Linked DNA regions of Homo sapiens: all the other regions are linked to region 3. The links are contacts of gene promoters, found by promoter capture Hi-C in blood cells and fetal thymus (Javierre and others, 2016). All regions are on one chromosome and are shown on one strand. The core of a region is centred on a gene start or on the middle of the fragment in contact, and the rest is flanking DNA. Distances in the headings are between cores, read along the strand shown.

The links. Contacts are between HindIII fragments. The CHiCAGO score rates a contact against its expected background, and 5 or more counts as called.
Region 1: a fragment that was not itself captured here is called in contact with the fragment with the promoter of SLC4A4 in region 3 in 1 of 17 cell types (fetal thymus); the score reaches 9.2 in fetal thymus.
Region 2: the fragment with the promoter of AMBN here is called in contact with the fragment with the promoter of SLC4A4 in region 3 in 1 of 17 cell types (fetal thymus); the score reaches 6.8 in fetal thymus.
Region 4: a fragment that was not itself captured here is called in contact with the fragment with the promoter of SLC4A4 in region 3 in 1 of 17 cell types (fetal thymus); the score reaches 5.4 in fetal thymus.

Annotation. Positions count from the first base shown.
Region 1 is chr4:70,610,949-70,613,648 of GRCh38, forward strand. No RefSeq gene overlaps it. Among named protein-coding and RNA genes, the nearest start is that of ENAM, 16 kb to the right of the region's middle. The HindIII fragment of the contact is 1,726 bases long and covers 582-2,307 here.
Region 2 is chr4:70,590,826-70,593,525 of GRCh38, forward strand. It overlaps AMBN (ameloblastin), which reads left to right and starts at 1,431. Exons shown (of 13, transcript NM_016519.6): 1 at 1,431-1,548; 2 at 2,502-2,570. The coding sequence starts at 1,534. The HindIII fragment of the contact is 2,262 bases long and covers 886-2,700 here.
Region 3 is chr4:71,185,921-71,188,661 of GRCh38, forward strand. It overlaps SLC4A4 (solute carrier family 4 member 4), which reads left to right and starts at 1,339. Exons shown (of 26, transcript NM_001098484.3): 1 at 1,339-1,481. It overlaps LOC124900712 (a long non-coding RNA gene), which reads right to left and starts at 604. Exons shown (of 2, transcript XR_007058133.1): 1 at 1-604. The HindIII fragment of the contact is 10,115 bases long and covers 1-2,741 here.
Region 4 is chr4:70,629,779-70,632,478 of GRCh38, forward strand. ENAM (enamelin) reads left to right here. Exons shown (of 9, transcript NM_031889.3): 3 at 1,892-1,960; 4 at 2,071-2,115. Among named protein-coding and RNA genes, the nearest start is that of ENAM, 2.4 kb to the left of the region's middle. The HindIII fragment of the contact is 2,442 bases long and covers 230-2,671 here.

The DNA of each region.
Region 1 (2,700 bases), core at 195-2,694, 570 kb before region 3:
GCCCAGGAGTTAGAGACCAGCCTGGGCAACATGGTGAAACCCCTTCTCTACAAAAAAATACAAAAATTAGCCAGGCATGGTGGTGCCTGCCTGTGGTCTCAGCTACTTGGGAGGCTGAGGTAGGAGGATAATTTGAGCCCAGGATGTGGAGGTTGCAGTGAGCTGTGATCACGCCATTGCACTCCAGCTTGGGTGACAGAGTGAGATCCTGTCTCAAAAAATAAAGATCAAAATAAAAAATAAATTAAAAAAAAGGCCGGGTGCAGTGGCTTACACCTGTAATCCCAGCACTTTGGGAGACCAAGGCAGGTGGATCACTTGAGGTGAGGAGTTTGAGACCAGCTTGGCCAACATAGTGAAACCCCATCTATACTAAAAATACAAAAATTAGCTGGGTGTGGTGGTGTGTGCCTGTAATCCTAGCTACTCAGGAGGCTGAGGCAGGAGAATTGCCTGAACCCAGGAGGTGGAGGTTGCAGTGAGCCGAGATCGCGCCACTGCACTCCAGCCTGGGTGACAGAGCAAGACTCCATCTCAAAAAAAAAAAAAAAAAAAAATCTGTTTCTCATCTTACTTCTATAAGCTTTAACCAGTAAATATGAGGCTTTTAAGGTTCAGAACCACTTCCTAATAACCCCCCATCTTACACATTCTCCCTACTTAATTGCCTCAGGTCCCTCTGATAGTGGCTTAGGGAAACTATCATGGTATACAATTTGGCCACATTTCAAGGTTCTTCCTCATAGGAACCTGATGTCCCCTCAGTTGAGGGGCTTTAGGTCTGGAAACTAGATAAGAAACTATACATCCCACCACAGCAATTTGAGTTAGGCTCAGTGAATGTAGAATTTTTTTTTTGTCTTTTTATGTCAAGCAGCACATTTATGTCAAGCGGAAAGTGGACAATCAATGTAGGACAGGATGTCTATCTATTTTTTCCTATAGACCTGTGATGAAGTAGCCATCATACAGAACCCTATTGGTCAAAACATGCTGCTTAGCATTCCATCCTGTGGCTTATTGGTCATTGCATCCTTGTCTCTGAAAGATAAGCACCACCCCCTGGCCTCTGTCTACTATTTCAGACTCCTATTTTTCCCATTGAAATTCAAAAGCAGCATCCCTCGTTATCATATCTGGTCCACAGAGAAAAACTACAGTCTTCGTTTCTTAATGCCTTAGTGAAGAAAGCGTTGTCTGGGCTCTTCTGAGTAGAAAAGGGTGAAGAGTGAATCTAGAGGAGTAAATGCAATACAGTCAGCCCTCCATATCCAGGGGTTTTTCATCTGTGGATTCAACCAACTGCAAATGAAAAATGTCATTGGATCTACAATGAACATGTACAGACTGTTTTTCTTGTCATTATTCTCTAAACAATACAGTGTTAAAACTATTCACAGAGCATTTACATTGTATTAAGTATCATAAGAAATCTAGAGTTGACTTAAAGTATTTGGGAGTATGTACATAGGATATATGCAAATACTATTTCATTTTATATAAAGGACTCGAGCATCTGCAGATTTTGGTATCCTCAGGGAGGTCCTGGCAATCCCCCACAGATACCAAGGTATGACTGTACATCCATTATGCCAATGTGTCAGGTGTGGCACACCTACCATTGGTGTAAAGACAATAATCTTTATGTAGTAAATTAATAACATTTTTAAAATTTACCTCATGTGATGCTGGTTTTCCATTTACAGACGCACAAAACAGATTTCTTTTAAAATAGATTTTCTTAAGTGATGAGATGTAAGAAAAAATATTAAGTAAATAGAACAGGTTGTGATTGGATATGGCAATAATCATAAAGACAGTCCATAAATGACTATGTACATGAATGAACTTTGGGAAAACATTGATTGATTTAATTCAACCTCCTCATTTATGGGTGAGGAGACTAAAAGTCCAGAAGAGTAAGGTCTTTTTTGAAGTTTTGGCTGCTATTGGAGGCAGAAGAACCCAAGCCTCTGGATTTCCCATTTGTCACTCGTCCACACAGATCCTCCACAGCACTGAAGTATTCTTTTGAGAACCTAATGAAAGCTGTGAATTATTATTCCCAAAAACGTAAATGGAAACAACACGTAAAATTCTGCCTACAATGTCAGCGATTACTCAGACAGCCTAAAGTTCATTCACGGACCTAAAGTTAAGCAACCCTCATCTAATCATTTAAATACCCACCAATGTGGAGTGTTATACAAGATGAAGCAAATATTTAAACTGACCCAGGCTAAGTGTCTGAATTTTTCTAGAACTCAATAACATTGTCTTTGGGAAAATGAGTCTTAAACACATAAAAGCTTTGAACTTCTAAGTGTGTTTCTCTTCCTTCCAAAACTTCTCAGTACTAAAAAAGTTGACTTCTATAGACAGTATGTGGCTACCAGTCAAGTGACATCAACAGACAGACTGCTGCATTTTACAAAGAGAAAGATCAAACCAGAAGTTTAGTTGATTTCTTTCTTCCATAAACATTAGAGACTGGGGGTAAAGTAGAAACAGCAGCAACCACACTTCACAGAAGCCAGACGTTAGAAACACAAATTCCAGCTTTGAGGAATGATTATTATAAAGCTGTTTGTCATAATAACTTTTGCTGATGCCTTCAGCTGTCTCCCTGCACTTTCATCTTTCCCCAGGGTTCAGCAGCTTTCCAGCTGGAGACCCGCGCCTAACAACCGGTTTGATAAT
Region 2 (2,700 bases), core at 181-2,680, 600 kb before region 3:
GCAGGCCTGTAATCGTAGCTGCTCAGGAGGCTGAGGCAGTAGAGTCGCCTGAACCCAGGAGGCGGAGGTTGTAGTGAGCTGAGATCACACCACTGCACTCCAGCCTGGGCAACACAGCGAGACTCCGTCTCAAAAAAAAAAAAGACTAGCTTGTGGTCATTAATTATTATCCTTACATAACAGAAGAAGGAACTGGGGCTCAAAAGAGATTAAGGGACTGCATCAAGCACCAGAGACAGCATGAAAAATAATACTTTTCATTTCAATAACATTTTGCTGTTTGCAAAACACATTCACATTCTTCATTTCTTTGCATCCTAAAGATAATTCTGGTATCAGTGGAACACAGAGGTTTTCAGGAGCAGCTTCTAAGATAACATTATTTGAAGCTGTTAGGCCTACATTTGGGTATGGATACAGCTTTCTCTCAAAATACCAGCTTCCTCAATGTTCCCTGTAATTGACAAGATCCCTACTTCCCTAAAGAGTGTACTGACTCATCCCTTCTTCAGAACTAATCTTAAATGCTTATCCCTACCATATCTGAAATCACAACTTTGGAAAGACAAGGATGGGCAGAGAAGTAACAAAAGCAGCTAATATTCAATCCACATCCAAGATATTATCTGTTCACGGAGAAAAACCAATCTGTGTTGACGTTAACCTTTTAAGTGATCGAAATATGTCTTATTAACCTGGCTTGATACTAATGCCTGGGAATGTGTCTATCTGAAGAGTGAACTGACACTTGTGCCCATTGATTTGGTTCATAGAGAATGTTCTGATTTACGTCCCCGTCCCCACAGATTTTTTTTAAAATGCACCAAACGTTTACCTGAAGTAAACCTGATTCTTGCAAAGGGTCCAACTGTAGTTTCTTACAAAAGCTTGGCTATCTCTAATCAATTATCTCCAGATATGAAAATATCTAGGAAATTCAAGGAAGAAATCACACACATTAATTTTCCATCTAACATTTTAGTGTTTTCTTTTAAACTCTGTGTGTGCTGGGGGGAAGGACAGTAGTCTCTTTTACTACAACAAACAGGAGGGTGAAAACCTGAAGAATGCTAGCATTGGGTCACTAGCTTTATCTGCAGATAAAACCTGCACAAAACAGGTTTTGTTTTGCACCTATTTTACATATATTTTCCCCAGCTCACCAAAATAATTGTCTTCAGAGCCTATGTCCATTATTCCTTTACTGCCTTCCCTGCTATCAAGTTCTCTGAATAAGTACAGGGGCTGCAGTACAATTAAAAATAATGAGACCCTACTGGGCCAATGTCCCTGCACGCAATAAAAGGGTGTGGACTAATTGCAGGAGCAGAGATTCCCGCCCCAACTCCCCCCCGCCACCCCTCGCCATTTTGCTTCACTTTGATTGGTGGATTGGCACTTTAAATAAAGGTTTCTAATCTTCCCTGAATGAGAAGTACAGAGCAAGTCCCACGCACAGTCCTGAAAAAAATTTTAATCTTCTTTTCTTAGAACTATCTTGGTTGGCATCATCAGGCCCTGAGAGCACAGTGCATGTCAGCATCTAAGGTAAAATGGGATTTTATGATTTCCATGTGTTTCCTGTAAATTCTTTTTTTCCTATCTCCTGACAGCTTTTATAAAGAGGATTTATCTTCATTTGTCACCAGTAGCTGAATTATTGCTTGTTGTAATCCATTAGCATGTCCCAGAGATGACATGCCTAACACCCATTCAACTAAGAAAAAAAAAAAGACTTTTATTTATAGATTGTGTTTTTTTTAATGTTTTTGATTATAGTGCCTAATTCTTTTTAATATTAGAAGATGAGTAAATTTCTAGGCTATTCAGATCTCTATTCATGTAAGAATAAAGAGCTTTTTGAATTTATAGAATAAATTTTAAAAGATAATTCATTTTAGGAAGAGGAAAGCTAAATTTGAGACATATTTTCCACTAACATCAAAGAAAATTAAGATAGCCAATTTACTCTCATTTGAAAAGAAAAATTTTGTCATGGTTACGTAGATTACCTAAACATGCAATGATGTACCCTCTATTCCTGCAAATAAAGGTTTGTTATAAAATGACTTAGTTGCATTACATTTCACATGCATTTCAAAATGTGTCCCAAAGGGTAAGCAAAGTATAAACTTCTGTGAATAATACCTTATAGACCAATATTTTACTTAGTGGGAAGGATTTTTAAACTCATAATTCACTTTATGAAATGAAATATATCACAAAGAATATCGATGGAGGTTGTTCCTACATACTTATTTAGGCTGTAGATCCATTTAAAACGTGCTTAGATATTTTTTAATTGCTTGTTAATTTATTTCAGAAACTACTACATACAAATCGGTTGTTTAGTAACATTTAGTTTTTGTTTTTGTTCTTCTAACCTTTATCCCGGTGGTTTTTGTAAGAGCAGAGACTCAGGCTCATTTTCAAAAATTGTCTTTTAACCATTCTGAATAAAAATTCATCTGATTTAATTCTCCAACTTAATTATGTTTTAGATTCCACTTTTCAAAATGAAGGACCTGATACTGATCCTATGCCTCCTGGAAATGAGTTTTGCAGTGCCGGTAAGTCAGTCTTTAGAGTGTGTCCCAGAAAAGGTTATTGATTGTCGAACTCCAAACAACACTGAAGGGATATGGACTGAGAGTCCACGCATAGACTCACTTGATTTAATCCAGTGGTTTAGTCCTATTG
Region 3 (2,741 bases), core at 89-2,588:
GTCCACATACACATTACATATAATATGTATTACTAGAAAATGATATACACTTGCATGATATACCATGTGGTTGCAATCCATTAAGTGACTACTCTCTAGCAGTACCCAGAACAATAGATGGTGTGTCTGTGCTGACAGTCTGTTCATATCTTAATGGTTTACTTATGATTCAATAGTTTACCAATGGCAATGGTGCTGGATCACTGATATATTATTTGCTTGGCAAAGAGTACTTGAACCTCATTATTAGACTTAGGAACAGAATAAATACAAATAATCACTTTGCTAAGGCTGTTTTCCTAACTCCCAAGGAAGACAGAAAGGCATCAGTGACATAAGTGAAGGACACAGTTGACAACCACGTTATCTTCAGACATCTTTTGTTAAAGGTGAACAATTACTTAATACTGTGTTATGGCAGCACTCTATACGCCCCAAGTTTTATAAAGTAGAGTCAAGAGTGATCTGAGCTGGGAAACTCACGCAATTTTAGTTCTGCATGAAAGCACAGGCTCTCCCCACTGGGGAACTCTTTTGAGTAGGACAAAAAGCTGGACCTAGGACCCAGCCCAGGGCGTGAGAGAAAAGGAACCTGGGAGGCAAGAGCGGCCGGTCCGGAGCCGGGTCCTCCGCCAGCTCCGGGCGGGCGCTGCGCACAGAGCCCAAGCCCCCGGCGGAGGCGGCGCGGCTCGAGGCCCCTCCCCGCCGCCGATGCCCGGGCGGCTGACGCCGAGCAGCGGCCCGGAGCGGTGGGGGCCGGGCTGGCGGGCACGAGCGAGGGCAGGGCAGGGGGCCGGCCGAGGCCACTTACGGCTTTAAATATGGATCGCAGGCTCGCGCTCGCGGCACAGCCTCCGCCGCGGCCGCCTTCCGTGAGCCCCCGCACCCCGGCTTGCTCCCGAGGGGCGCCTGGGCTGGGCTCCACTGCTGCAGTGTTAGTTACTAGCAGGAACATCAGAGATCCCCATAAATATGCAGGAGCTGCAGGAGGCAAAGTAGAGTAGACGCCCGCGCTCTTACACACTCGCTCGCCGCGCACCACACAGGCTGTGTAGACATCCCCCCGCGCCACCTTTCCCCTTTCCTCGCGGGCCGTTCAGGTTGCAGTCCTGCCTGCTCCGAAGACCCTCCCGCCCCAGCGCCTTTGCCCCGCTCTCCCGCGCTCGCCTCTCTCCGGAGCGCGCACCCACCCAGGCGGCAAAGTTGTGACTACTTGGGCGCGGGTGACTGGCGCCCCGCTCGCTCCGCGCCCGGCGCAGACAACTTCCCGCGGCTCGGCCCCGCCGCGTCCCGGGCTCGCGCCTCCAGGGATTCCGCGGCCCCCCAGCCTCCAACCCCGGCGGCGCGCCGGGCAGCGCTTCGGTGGCGGCGGCGGCCGCGGTGGCAGCGAAGGCGGCGGCGGCGGCGGCAGTGGCAGTGGCCGCTGCAGCCCCACACTCCGCCGCCAAACTGGAGGAGCGACGGAAGCCAGACCCCAGGAGGTGAGCGCCCGGCCCCGGCAGCTGCCGGGAGGGTCGATGGGGTCCCTCGCTCCAAGGCGGAGGCGGGCGCGGGCCCGGGGGCCGATTCCGTAGGGCGCGCAGGCGGCCTCAGCGCGCTCCTGGGAGGGAGAGAGAGGTCAATTGCGGGCCGGGCATCCCCTGAGCTGGGCGCGGGCGGTGTGTGGAGGCTGCTTCCGCGGAAAAGTATTTTTTTTCCTTCTTAGGGTTTAGAGGAAGAGTTTGGGTGGTCTGCTTCTCCCTCACTGCTAAGTCCCCTGCGCGCAACTGGGCGTCTTTACGAGGACTGCGGGGCCAGTTCTGCGGCGGGCTGGGCTCGGGCTCAGTGACACGTGTGTTGCTGTGAGCCTGGGTGGTCGCCCTGTGACCAGGCACCTGCTTGAGAGGAACACATCCCTAAACCCATCACAGGGGGAGATTTGGGGACTCTTGGTGCTACCGAGGCCGCGGCCCCCACTTCACTGCCAGCTCCAGGACGGAGCATTTACATCTCTCCCTGGCACGCCAAAGGCGGGGGGTGAGTCAGGCAGATTCTCTGCAAGTGGCACACACACATTTATTTGCAATGGATTTGGCTAGGGGAGGCATAGGTTAAACTGGAATTTCTCTTGGCCAGCGACAACGGAGCTCTCCCTCAGGTACTGGGCAGCATGTGAGTCTTGGCAAAGAGAGGTGATTTCTTTTTTCTTAAGTGCATTTTACTCAGCCGTTGCCAGTCCGTTAATAAGTCACCAGAGGAAGGCAGGACCTGGGAACTACATCAGCAAACCGCAGCAAGCACCATAAAGACAAAAGTTCTTATAGAACAAAAAGAAAAACTTGAACTTGACGTGAAAGATGGAGGAAGCAGTTCTACCTCTCTTCTATCACTTTTTTCAGCGCCCTGTAAAACTGTTTTTTTCTATCCTTCCTTCCCTCTCAAGGCCCTACCTTCTCAGCATAATTGATCGCAGCAAGCTCTTTCCAACTTGACACTGAAGAGCAGCGACCCCTTTGGCTTACCCTCCCCATTTCTTTTCCTGGTTCGCTTCAGTGCCCTGGAAAGTTGCTCCTAATGAGAAATCAAGAACACTGGGCTGTACTAAACGCTCATTGTCTCAAATCCTGCAGCAGTTCCTTTCCTAAGAGACACTGTGTTGTACTGTATTTCTCTTTTTTCTTGTATCTTGGGACTTGGAGTTGTAATACTACCTGAATTAAATTAATTAAAGTGTACATTGCTCATTTGGGCTTTTTTTTTTC
Region 4 (2,700 bases), core at 201-2,700, 560 kb before region 3:
TCACTAACTTTTAGAGATGGAAGGGATCTCAGTCATCCAACATAATATATTAATTTTACAAAAGAGAAAATGAGTTTTCTATTTGCAAATATAAAGGCTACATATATTATCAAGAATCACTGTGACAGCTACTAGAGAGATGAGATGAATGATTAAGCAAGGCAGAAATTAACCATCCAAAAGCACCCTTAAATCTTGGGCCATAATCTTAGAAACATTTAGCAAAGAAAGCTTTCACCAGTATTCTCTTTATTAGTTTCCACATATTGTTGTAACCTATACTAAACACTCTAAAATAACATTCAGCTGTTATTTTCATTCTCTATGATGTTCTAACTCTGAAAATCTTTAAATAGTAGGAAAGGTATTTACATACTACTGCTTCCTTTGTTTAATTACATTCTGCCAATTTTTCTAATGTATGAAAGATAACTGATTACACCCACAATTTAGGAAAATGTCCATTATAAAAATGCTAAAGCGTCATTTATGTTGCTCCTATAGGAAGTAAACAGAAGGGTGAGCATTGGCTCCAATTATGCTAGATAGATTTTATGTCCAGAAAAGGAAGAAAGAATGAAAGGAATGAAAACAACTGAGTGTCTACATGTTGGTTACTCTGCTAGGAAATGGACTATATCTGATATACGATGAAAATGAATCATTCTGATTAAAACCTTTTATTTTCCTCTATTGTATATGCAAATAGAAAGTTTTCTTAAGAAATTACTCAAGTAAATGTTTCAGAATAAACCTTGTTCCAAGATGTAAATACGAGACTTAATTTTACAAGTCTTTCATAATTAACTAGAGTGGGATAAATGAATGAACCCCGTTAAAAACAATCTCCAAACTTCATACATAAGTCTATATGTTTAATCAAGGTATCTAATAAAGAGATAAATTTACTATTCTGCCTATTTCCTATTTCTTCCTATTTTCCTGACCATCTTAGAGCATAAGTGATTTTTTTTTTTTTTTGAGACAGAGTCTCACTCTGTCGCCCAGGCTGGAGTGCAATGGCACGATCTTGGCTCACTGCAACCTCCTCCTCCTGGGTTCAAGCGATTCTCCTGCCTCAGCCTCCCAAGTGGCTGGTATTACAGGTGTGAGACACCACACCCGGCTAATTTTTGTATTTTTAGTAGAGACAAGGTTTCACCATGTTGGCTCAGCTGGTCTCAAGCTCCTGTCCTCAGGGGATCCACCCACCTCAGCCTCCCAAAGTGATGGGATTAAGGCGTGAGCCACCGCGCCTGGCCACATAAGTGATTTTTAAAGGAAGTGATGATGATGATAATAATAATAACAGGAACAATAGAGGAAACCAGGAAAAAAATAAGATTCTGCATATTCCAGTTTACTTAGTCTCTATATAACAGAATATTATCTATAACATCTTAGAAAGTAGCACAAAGTTTTGATTTTGGAGTGTGCCCTCCTTGAAACTGAGATTATTCTGTACAATGAATGTAGTTGGACATCACTATTTCTTTATAAATCAACTAGTAACTAGAAACTCAAACCCATTAATATTCCTATTTGGGGGATAACCTCCTAATTTCTAATTTTCACATTCTGGTGCTATGATATCTCTCTCTTTCTCTCTCTCTCTGTCTCTCTCTCTTTCCCTGTCTCTCTCTTTCCCTGTCTCTCTCTCTCACGCACACACACTTATATTTCCTTTTAATCTGACTCTTTTGGCAGCTTGAAAAGTACCAGATGATAACTATCTAATAGTTTCTTGACATAAAATAAAACTGGCAGCAGGGGCCCCATCCATTTCCATACTCTCCTTGACAGACAAGTAGGCTAGTACTTAGATAAGTGCAGAGTGCCCTAAGCATACTTATTTCACAGACCAAAAATAAAAATCAATTTTTTATTCTAGGTACCAAAAGGCAAAATGAAGATTCTCCTGGTCTTTCTAGGGCTTCTTGGTAATTCTGTTGCTATGCCAGTGAGTATTTTTTAAATGTTAGCTCTTCTCTTTGTGTTCCGTTAGGAACAATTGTTGAGCTTATTTCAACTGATGTTCTGCATTTGTCACTGACATTCTCTTACTTCCAGATGCACATGCCCCGAATGCCTGGATTTAGCAGTAAAAGTGAGGAGGTATGTACGTTCAGTCTCAGAGGAGAAGTTATCCAGAGTCCTATCCTACACATTTACTAAAAAGGAGAATATTGGAAAATTGTCTCATATATAATATTTCTTATGAAAAAGGTAAAAAGAGGGAGATTTGAAAGTCTTAAACTCTCAAATCGAGGCAAAGTAGTAATTTCCCCAGCCATCAGCCTACCTATGTACTTCAGTGTTCCTTTTCAAGGTAGATGTGGATTTGTGTTAAAATCTAGTTGATGTTACCTTATCTGCTAAGTTTTTTAGCTAGCAAAAGTGACCAATTGTACCAAGGGTTATTAGAAGGTAGATGCTTAAAAATAGAAATACCTTTCACATGACTCATATCCCAGATCATTAATCAAATTCAATACATATCAGAAAGATGAATCATCTTGTCACATAATTCTCATGTTCTCAAATCCTGAACTCAAAAAGAATAGAACAGAACATTCAAAAACTTTACAGTAGATCAGACTTTTATTTTCTATGATTCTCTATTGATTATTCTCAAAATAAAATTCTGACTTAAAAGTTAAACTGCCTGAGAAGCTTCTTTAATTGTATACTTTCTTAAAA